Linked DNA regions of Homo sapiens: region 2 is linked to region 1. The links are contacts of gene promoters, found by promoter capture Hi-C in blood cells and fetal thymus (Javierre and others, 2016). All regions are on one chromosome and are shown on one strand. The core of a region is centred on a gene start or on the middle of the fragment in contact, and the rest is flanking DNA. Distances in the headings are between cores, read along the strand shown.

Region 1 (5,526 bases), core at 1,618-4,117:
CCCTCACCCTCTATTCCATCATGTTTTGGAGCTCAAAACATTTTACTGACAGAGGGAGACACAGGATTTTACCTGTTCACTAGGCAGGTGAGGACAGACCTTATATTTTAAAATGGAGGGGTGTGATGGACATTCTCTTCTTTAGTGCCCTCTTCAACTCCCCATTTCCCATCGTCTTAACTTAGACACACATCCTCGGGAGGAATTCACGAATGCACCCTCACTAGATCTAAACCCTGCAGTACCTTCCTAGCATGGCAGCCTCTCTATAGCATCTAGCCCAGGAGATCCCGCTGGCTTATTGGGATGGATGTGTGACACCTATTTCAGGACAGAGCTGCCAACAGGACAATGCATGGACATTCTAGTGTCCCCTTCGCTGTTACCTCCTCACAAGCTGGCTCACAGTAGATACCCCCTGGTGTTTACAGTAATAAAGAAAGTCTTTGCTGCGGTCTGCAGAGAAAGCTCACCATACTTCCTCACCTGAGCAGCTGGTCCAGGTGGCCTTCGAGGAAAGAGACAGAGTGCATGTAAAGCTTCTGGAAGTAGTCCAGCTTGAGGAACTGAGAGGTGAACTGGATGACAAACTGCTCCTTCCTGTCTAGGGGAATGCAGGCAGAGACATGGATGTTGAAGAGAACAAGTTTGCGGAGATTCCTCATCTGGCCCAGGTAAGGGGCGAACCTTATAAGAATGGACAGCTCCCACGGGCAGCACACTTCCACCTCCTGGATACAGTCTAGCTCCACCGTGTTCAGGACCTCTATGATCCTGTGGATGGCTATTCCAAAAATCTGCAGCTCCTTGCAACACACGTGCAGTAAGCCTTTTCTCTGCTTGCCCCACTCTAAGAAGTGGGTGAGGCATTCATCCAGCGTCCCATTCTTGAAGCAAAGGTCTAGGATCACCATCAAGGGCTGCTGCCCACCCGGCCTTGGACAGTTCCCTGCTGTTCGTCTCTTACTCAGGGCCTCTGGGGAGAGTGCAGAAGCTCCAGACCATATGCCCCAGAAGTTCTCATCCACATTCCGCAAGTCCAACACTTGAAGTTTCCACCGCCTGTGGGTAAAAGAGAAGAGAGGCTCCAAATTTAGGAAGGATTTGAGCTTTTATCCACATCCCGGACATCAGCGACTCTCCTCCCTGCTGCTTCTCCCACTCTCTGTCTTTTCTCCATCCCTCTTTCTCCTTGAAACCTGCCTGGTCCCCACTGCTAGTGTCTTCAATTGCCACTGGCAGGAGGCAGGTTCCTGATCCTTCAGTGGACCCTGCATGGTGAGCAGTCCTTTCCCAGAGGAGCTGGACAATGGCCAAGGCCTCTCTGAGCTTCCTCCCCAGCCCCATCAGAAGTCTCTGGGCCACCCTTGGGCCTCCCACTCCTTCTGACCCAGCTAACCCTACCCTGGATGCCTGAGCCCTCCCCACCTGGTTAGCTGGGTCACCTCACCTGGGGCGAACCTTCTGGGCAAGCAGTGCATCAAGCCCCTCCAGCACAGCTCGAAAGATCTCTAGATTACATGACTTCATCAGGGACCCTAGAGGAAGGCAGGTGAAGGGCCAGGCCTGCACCATAGTTGTCAGGGTCTCGCAGCATCTCCTGGTAAAGGCCTCCATGAACAGTGGGGGAAAGAGCTCCCTGGGCAGCTCCTCCAGGGTGGGGATGGCCAAGGCCCGGTCTCTCAGCAGACTCTGCTCAGCCAGCTCCAGGAGTCTAGGTGGGGCCTGGAGGCTCATCCTGATGAATCTAGAGAAAAAAACATCATTCTTACGGCAAATCACATCACTTCATCATCTCCTAGTGCCAATGTCATTGCTCTGGTAGAGGTGGAAAGGTAATTAGTTCACCCCAATTCCACTCTGCACTTTCTGGACACAAATCTGTAATTCTGCCCTTGCTGGTACCATAAAGAATGTCTTCCAAACAATGAGGAGAGGGCAAGGTAACCACTGGCCCATTCATTTTCAACCATTGCTGCACTAAATCTCAGTAACACTGGGAAGCGTTGCTGAGGATCCTGAAAGCTAAGCTCCACCTTTTTGAGAAAATATTTCTTGTCACTTACCACCCTAAAACAATGGGAACGAGAATGTCCTGTGGCCCCACACAGCCTACATTCTCAGTTCCCACAATTGACATGCTTGCAGAAGACTAAAGGGACTCCTTGGAATCAGCGCCATTATTTTTTATTTTGAAAAATTGTAACAAGAAATTGTAAAAACAGCATGACAGTGTTCTAGAGCCTGTGAAAGTTAGGGATAAAAACACTAACTCTCAGATGAAGGTTCCAATGTTGATCTCTTACACAGACTCACAATGACCCACTTTGGGATGGAATCTAGGGGAAAAAAATGGGTCCCATGTTCAGAACAAAGACTCCACTCTTGAGAATGGCCTATGGAATATCTTTAAGGTATTAGTAAAAACTAAGGCCTAACATGTAAAATCACGATGCCACCAAGTCTATGAACTATAATTTAAGGGCACAAAAACCAATTATTTCAAATGTCACGAAATAAAAATTCAACCAGTTGTAACTTTTTAATATCTCTTGTTAAAAAAAAAACTGCTTCAATAAGAATTTTGAAATGACAAAAACCAAGCACAAATCCAATTTTGGGGGATGAAGACAAAACTACATTTAGAGGAAAAATCAAAGCCTAAATTTGTTCTTCTGAAAACAGACAAGAAAATTCTCTCTGCCACCTTGGGCTGCATGTCACCATCCCTGACTGGCTGGCTGGCTGCAGATCAGATGGGCATGACCCTAAGGAGGTGGTGACTTACCAGATCTGGACTCAGTTTGCAGGGTGCTGCAACCTCTCAGAGAACCGAGCAGTAGCTCCAGGTGTCAGCGCCTTGGATTCTCTCCTGTGCACCTTCGGGAGCTTTTATGGACCTTTCTAACCACACCCTCCCCATCTCAACAACCAACTTCCAATCAGAAAATGATGTCTGATTAGATTCTGAAGTTCCACCCAGTTAATCCTGATTGAGTTTGCGACTTTCTTCTGATTAATTGATTGGATCAGATATACGTTTATGAAAGTGAAAGATATAAATAATAGGGTGAAAGTCCACAACTCATTCATTCCTTTATTCCACAAACACTGATGGAGTTTGACTGACATGAGAGCTTCATAGTGATGCAGGAAAGGGTTGAATCTGTTTCTGGCATTTGACAGAAAAAACAAAACCTGAAGGTATCTTTGCTGGGGGATCTTTGGCCACATAAACATTATCAAAATGTCTCAGAGCTAAAACAGCTCTAAGAAGACAGTAATTTCATCCCTAAGAAAGCAGAATAAATATCTCTGCGTATCCAGTGGTCAGCTGGGATTTACGCTTTCTAACATGGTAGATCATATGCCCATTCAGGTGGCAGAGGGGAACCACTGAGGGTGTGATTGATCTCAAGACGAAGGTTCAGGCTTCTCCGGAGGAAATTAAACCAAAATTACAAAGTGAGGTGGGGGCTGGGCAGGATGGGACCGGGTGTTCTAATGGGACCCTGGGAAGGAACCAAGACAGCATAAAACATGGTGGGTATTTTGTGGGAGAGGAGACGGAAGGATTGAAAGACTCCATTTAGATTGAATTCAAAAACTGAAAAGGAAATAATTACAAAAGAGACACTGTAGACTCAAAACACAATATTGCCTTTGAGGGCATGGGACGAGATACAGTCTTGGTCACCTCTAGAAGGTAAAGCGTGTTTACTCACAAAAATGATGGGCACCCCTCAGAAAACCAGCTTCGGGAGATTGAATCTGAGAATGTGAGCTGGGACAGAGGCCAGACAGAAGCACAGTGGCCAGGCCTAAGAAGGGAGACTCCCCCAAGCTGGAAGCCACAGAGGGTGGAAGCTGTGGGCTCTGCAGGACATGGGGGAGAAATGCACAAGGGTCCGTGTCTCCCTGTCATGGCGCTATGGTCTGGAAATCTTTCCTTTAGACTCAGGGATCTTCCCACAGTGGAACATTTCCCAGCAACCCTCAGGTCCAGGCATTTCCCAGGGCCCTTCATCCTCATCAATCCCATCGGCCCCTTTCCAGGTATATTTTGATCATTAATGTTTTCTCATCCTTAAAGTCCTCTCTTGTCCCTAATATTGAACATAGAGATTCTGATCAGAACAACAACATTAGGCATATGAAGAAAACTCAGGCCAGGCACGGTGGTCACTGGAGTCCAGGAGTTTGAGACCTGCCTGGGTAACATGGTGAAACACTGTCTCTGTAAAAAAAAAAAAATCTACCTAGACATGGTCATGTGCACCTGTATTCCCAGTGACCCCATAAGCAGAGATGGGAGGATTCCCTGAGCCCAGGAGGTCAGTACTGCAGTGAGCCATGATCGTGCTGCTGCACTCCAGCCTTGAGACCTTGTCTCAACAGAGGGAAACCCAACAGAGTGAGACCTTGTCCCAAAAAAAAAAAAAAGAGAAACAAAGAAAATAAGAGAACTCAGTTTTTCTCTCTTTAAGCACAGTGCACACATCCTAGTACATTTCCCCACAAAACCCAGAGCTCCGTATCACGCTGCAAGCTTTGTAAGCTTAGGGGTGGCTCCCATCCTGGGCAGAATCACACCGTGATTCTTCTGATGTTTTGGGATACAAAGTAGCAAGAGCCTCCCCCACCCCAGAGAATCCTCCAGGCCTTTCTCTCCCATTTTTTATGACACCCAAACAGCTCTGAGATGCCACTGGCCCACCAAAGCTGGAGTTCTTCGAAGGATGTTCTCCATCTCGGAATCTTTCTGGAAATGTTTTCTCTCCACATTTCTGACCTCACTATCAATGCCTTATGTGTGCAATCAAGTTAAACTGAAATGTACTCAGTGAGGCTTCTACTTCCCAGCCCCTTGCTTTGTGAACCTGAGGCTGAGGGTGAGCTCAGCACCAAGGATGGTCGTGAGCATCTCTGTTGACTGAGCATCCACGAGACACAGCAGGGGCTGAGTACTTTTCACCCAGCTCTCCCTCACAGAGACCTCACCTCTCCCTCCCAGTGAACCTAAGGTATGTTGCTCTTTCCCGCATTTTTAACCTGGTGACCCTGAGACTCGGCCAGGGAGAGGAATCTGCCCATGTTCAGGCCGCAAATGATTGGCAGATCCCTCAGGTGAGGGCTCAGAGGATCCCCCAAGGGGTTCAATAACCTAAATGTTACAAAGAACTGATTGACAGCCTTTTCCTTCCTACCCAATTCAGGGAGTCTTGCACCACCCCCAGGACCCTGGTGAGAATCCTGCACTTGGGGGCTTTTCTACCATATCCTGTCGCCTGTTCTTCTCAAGGTGCTTGTCTGCTGCCCAGGTCAGAGCAGCCTTCGCAGTTCATCTCAAGGAACCACCTGACCCCTTCTCCACTCATGGAATCCCCACTGGGATCTCAAAGTTTCCCCCAGGCCCTTGCTCAGGGTCTCTAGAATATTTCTGAGCTTCTGTTTTCCTCTCCAGGTGCAGCCTTTTCAGCTCTAAGGCTGGGCCAGAGGCGCCTGGAAAGGGTCAGGGCAGCCCAC
Region 2 (5,526 bases), core at 1,041-3,540, 58 kb after region 1:
AGGCCTCATTTGAGAACTTTTTTTTTTTTTTTTTTTTTTTGGAGAGAAGAGGCCTCATTATGTCACCCAGGCTGGTCTCAAACTCCTGGACTCAAACAGTCCTCCCACCTCAGCCTCCCAAAGTGCTGGGATTACAGGTGTAAGCCACTACACCCAGCCCAGAACATTTTTAAATACATAAAATAAATACATGGGATTATAAAGAAAAGCAGTGTTATTTAAATATACTTATCAAAATATTAAAATGTATGTCATAATAATATAGGTTCTTCCTTACTAGCACATAGAGTAATAAGATCTAACTGCTGCCTGATACTACCCTAGTTTCAAAGAAATGAGGAGAATACATGAGTTTTCGCAATATCTAATAGGCAATGCAAATATGTCTGATTTCTCTTGGTGAAAAGTCGAGGTCTGGCTTTCAGGACTGTGGTTTGTTGCCTTCATTCCTCATGAGAAGAATTTCAATTGGAAGTTAGTTGTGAACATGGGGTAATTTTGACCCCATCCAAATCCATGACCCCCTTGTGTTCTGTGACCCAAATCCATGACCCCCTTATGTTCTGTGATCCAAATCCATGACCCCCTTGTGTTCTGTGGCCCCGGGGGCTCAAGATGCCCCAGGAGAGAAGCCCTGCTCGGCTCCCCTGACGGGTTTTGCTGTCCTCCTTGCATTCTCCGCTTTGGGAAGCTGTTTATCTGTAGCTTGTTCTATTGTGGGTTAGCTTCTTTATAGACCACTTCCCCGCTGCCCACTGCCTGGACCCTACAAGCTCCCTAAAGGCAGACCTGTGGAACTTTACCTCTCTCACCTGTCATTGGCCCTAGAGCCCAGGACTGGCGTAGGACACACAGCAGTTGCATAACACATCTTTGCATAAAAAATAAAAGAATCAACAAAGAGTAACAATGGCTACTATTTAAGGAGGGCTCCCTCTGTGTCAGGCATTATAATAAGCCTTCTGGAGAGGGTTATTCATGGAGTCTCCACAAAACCCTGTGAAGTAGGAGCAATTTTCCCTACTTTGCAAAAGAGGAAATCGAGTCACTGTATTTGGGAGCCTGGACTACAGAATCTGAGCATCAAGGGTAGGAAAACCTAGGACCCAATCACTGCATCTTATAAAAGCTGACTGGAGATCAGAAGCCTAGAGTTCCCGGGATCTTCTCTTTTAGGTAATAGCTACATTCTTTTGAATAGCATAGAAATTATTTTGAATAGCATAGAAGACACACCTAGGGTGTCTCTTGAGAAGAGGCACTGGCAATTGCTTTTCGTTATGTAAGAAACTTACAAAAAATATTTTGTATATTCAGTTTCTGTCAAGGCACAAGAAAAAGTACAAGAAATCCGTATTGGCAACACCTACACAGTTCCATTTACAGGTATTTTAACAAATTACACCAGAAGCAGAACCAAACTATATTCCCTAGGCAGCTTTCTAGCTCTCAAAAGCAACAACATATTTTTAAAGTCACATTCTGTAATTTTGCTCACCGGCACTAATCTACTCATCCGCTACCCTTTTACTTTGTGGCTTGCTGGCTCTAGCTAACAGGTAGATAGCAGTGGGGGCCCAGAGACTCAGGAAAATTCATTCATATCTTCACAACTTCTGAGAGTGGTGAGTGCTGTGAATAATATGGACACATTTATGGACACGTGAAAGGTACACTTAAAAATGCGAAAGATGGTAAATTTTATATGCATATTTTACCTCAATTTTAAAAATAAAACAAACCAACAACAACAAAAAGAAAGTCAGCGGGAGACACTCAGGTGAATAGAACCAGACTGGTTTTTTCTTTCTGTTAACTGAGAAAGCAGATCATTCTTTGAATTTTGTGAATATTAGCCAGGGCCAGCTTCAGAAACACCCAAAGAGGCTGAGAACCACCTAATAGGGATTATGCACATTTCAGAAGGTCTGATCAGCTGTCACTGCAGGCCCCATGATACCGGTGTTCATTCAGCTAGAAGCTTCCGGTGTGTGATTTTTCCTGCCGCCTTCCTTAATGGTCAGCTGGAGGGGACACATAAAGCACAAAACTCACCCAAGTCAACAGCAGCTGGAAGATGCAATGGAGGACTCTCAGTTTCACAGGGTGGCCAACCGCTGCAGGGATGTGCACAGTGAAAAAATGGCTGCAAATGACCCACAGAGTGACCCCTAGTGAGAACACGCAGGCTGCTGCGAGGAAGATCAGGGCCAGGTCCCACATGCTGCTTCCAGCTCAGAGCGGGCTGAGAGGAAGCTGTGCGCAGTGTAAACCATTTAGGACATGGTTCAGAGCCAGCAGACCTCCTCCACTTATAAGTCACACCTGTCCTCCCCCACCTCCCTGGGTCCCACAAACACTGGCCCAGCCCAGGTGAGTCACAGGCTCAGGTGAGGATGTGGTTCTAGGACAGGGCCCATGCAGAGAAGAAAGTGGCCCATCCAGCCGGATCCAGCCACAAAAGAAAGTTCTAGAGTCCCAGCTTACAATCTGGCACTGCTAACTAGAAATAGTCTTGGATAAGCCACCAAGTCACAATGGACATCATAAACACGATTCCTCCCACCGGCCCTCGGACCTCATCCCCCCACTCTGTGATTCAACTCCAGCTTATCATCCATCCATCAGCCTGTGGAGGATGTCCCAGAGCTGTTGTACGGCAAGCCATTCTCTGTACACCATTCTTCCCCTAGACCTCGGCTAGACTCCATGCCTCCCCTCTTGCTGGTCTCTGCTCAAATGTTGCCTTCTCAGTGAGGCCATCCCTGGCAATCTTATTTAAAATTTAACTCCCGCCAGCATGCCTACGCCCACCTTCCCCAGCCCCACCTTCCCCATCCCCCACCCTTTCCACCCCCCCACCTTCCACATCCCCCACCTTCCTCATCCTCCACCTTCCCCATCCCCCATCTTCCCCATCCCCCACCTTCCTCACCCCCCCACTGCTTGGTTTTTCCCTGTGACCTTTATCATCACCTGCCTCACTTGTCTGTTTATTGTCTGGGAGGACAGGAATTTTCTTTTTGTGCCATTTTATCACCAGAGGCTGGATTGGGGCTTGGTACTTTGTAGGTGCTCAGCAAATGCCTATGGAGTGAGAGAATGAATAGACAGGCTTTGTCCTCTTTCTTGCAAATCTGGGAAACTGTGCTTGCTTTCCTCTTTCTTGCAAATCTGGGAAACTGTGCTTGCTTGCCTTTCCAGGTCAGGTCAGAGGTTGATGTCACCATTGGAAATCTTCCCTAACAACCAAGTCCCACATCTGCAGTAACAATAGTAATATCTGCTGTGTCTCCCGCCTCCCAGCTTGAGTGAGAGAGCAGTGGTTCTCAGACAGGAGAGATTTTACCTCCCAGAAGATATGGGAATATCAGAAACATTTTTGTTGTCCCCACTCAGGAAGGGCCAGAGGGCTGGTTCTAGAGTGTCATAGACAAGAGGCCAGGGATATTGCCAAACATCCTGCAATGCACAAAGACTTATGCAGTCCAGCAAGCCGATAGTATGGTGGTTGAGAAACCCTGCATTTGCAACACTTGAATTTGAATCCTGGCTCTGCCAAATGCCAGCATGCTGATCATGAGCACGTTATGTGCAATCAGCCTCAGTTTCCAAGTTTGTCAAATGGGGATAATAATAGTACTCCCCACTCCATAGGACTGTTGGCTGCCTCAAGAACACCAGCCTGTGTCAAGCACTAGTATGAGTCTGGCACGTGGGAAGACTTAATTAGATGTCAGGAAGCCAGCCTGAAGCATTCTTTCTTTCTTTCTTTTTTTTTTTTTCTGAGATGGGGTCTCATGCTGTCACCCAGGCTGGAGTGCAGTGGTGCAATCTTGGCTCACTGCAGCCTCCATCTCCCAGGCTCAAGTAATCTTCCCACCTCGGCCTCTGGAGTAGCTGGGACTACAGGTGTGCACCACCATGCATGCCCATCTAATTTTTATTTTTATTGATTTATTTGTGTGTGTGTGTGAGAGAGAGAGACTGAGTCTCTCTCTGTCACCCAACCTGGAGTGCAATGGCACAATCTCAGCTCATTGCGACCTCCGCCTCCCGGGTTCAAGCAATTCTCCTGCCTCAGCCTCCCGAATAGCTAGGACTACAGGTGTGTGACACCATGCCAGCTAATTTTTTTTGTATTTTTAGTTATTTTTTATTTTGTTATTTTAGTAGAGATGGGTTTTCACCATGTTGGCCAAGCTGGTCACGAACTCCTGACCTCAGGTGATCCACCCGCTTTGGCCTCCCAAAGTGCTGGGTGTCACGCGTGTCTGTGTAAAGAGACCACCAAACAGACTTTGTGTGAGCAACAAGGCTGTTTATTTCACCTGGGTGCAGGCAGTCTGAGTCCGAAAAGAGAGTCAGCGAAGAGAGATGGGGTGGAGTTGTTTTATAGGATTTGGGTGAGTAGTGGAAAATTACAGTCAAAGGGGGTTTTTCTCTTACGGGCAGGGGCGGGGGTCACAAGGTGCTCAGTGGGGGAGGTTCTGAGCCAGGAGAAGGTTTCACAAGGTTAATGGCTCAGTTAAGGTGGGGCAGGAACAAATCACAATGGTGGAATGTCATCAGTTAAGGCAGGAAGCAGCCATTTTCACTTCTTTTGTGATTCTTCACTTGCTTCAGGCCATCTGGATGTATACATGCAGGTTTGGGCTCAGAGGCCTGACATTCCTGTCTTCTTATATTAATAAGAAAAATAAAACAAAATAGTGTTGAAGTGTTGGGGCAGTGAAAAATTTTCGGGGTACTATGGAGAGATAATGGGTGATGTTTCTCAGGGCTGCTTCGAGGGGGATTAGGGGCAGCATGGGAACTTAGAGTGGGAGAGATTAAGCTGACAGAAGATTTTGTGGTAAAGGGCAATATTGTGGGGTTGTTAAAGGGAGCATTTGTCATATAGAATGATTGGTGATGGCCTGGATATGGTCAGGAAAGGTAAAACGGACTAATGGTCTTTTCCCAAAAACTCACCAACCAAGCAAGTAATTATGCTCAACCCTCTTGGGCACTCTCTAATTGGATGTCCTGGGTCCTCCCAATTCTTAGTCCTTTAATACTTATTTTTCTCCTTCTTTTATTTGGACCTTGTATCTTCTGTTAAGCTTCTCAATTTATACGTCCAGGATTACATTTCCCTCCAGGAGCGGTCTCTGCTTCTGTCTCAGGAGGAGGCGCACCCTGCCCCCTTGTGAGGGCCTCAGGGGTGAAAAATCAGGACCCACCCCATGTGAGAAATAACCCGAGCTCTCAGCAATGTGGAAAGAAACTGGCCAGCAACCTGGGGTAAAGGATCCTCCATAATGGCCACTAAAGTCTGCACATGGACCGAGGAAAAGACACTGCAGGAGCTGGTAAAGTATTTCCTTGTTGGTTGGGACCAAGGTAAGAATGTCGCGGGGGGGCGGTGAAGTACTCCTTTGTTGGGGTGGCTTAGAGGTTAAAAAGAGATGAGACATCTCCATTAGGGGGGATTGAACTTCACAAAAACCTCCAGTAGTAGAAAAGGCAAGAAATTTCCAATAA

Evidence for each region. The method cuts DNA at HindIII sites, captures the fragments that hold promoters and counts their contacts. A CHiCAGO score of 5 or more calls a contact.
Region 2: the fragment with the promoter of AADACL3 here is called in contact with the fragment with the promoter of PRAMEF12 in region 1 in 2 of 17 cell types (total B cells and M0 macrophages); the score reaches 5.9 in total B cells.

Annotation. Positions count from the first base shown.
Region 1 is chr1:12,771,079-12,776,604 of GRCh38, reverse strand. PRAMEF12 (PRAME family member 12) reads right to left here and starts at 2,867. Exons shown (of 3, transcript NM_001080830.5): 1 at 1,451-2,867; 2 at 487-1,062. The coding sequence starts at 1,737. The HindIII fragment of the contact is 4,010 bases long and covers 542-4,551 here.
Region 2 is chr1:12,712,874-12,718,399 of GRCh38, reverse strand. AADACL3 (arylacetamide deacetylase like 3) reads right to left here and starts at 2,290. Exons shown (of 4, transcript NM_001103170.3): 1 at 2,056-2,290. The coding sequence starts at 2,223. RefSeq lists an enhancer at 1,616-2,815. The HindIII fragment of the contact is 3,124 bases long and covers 1,984-5,107 here.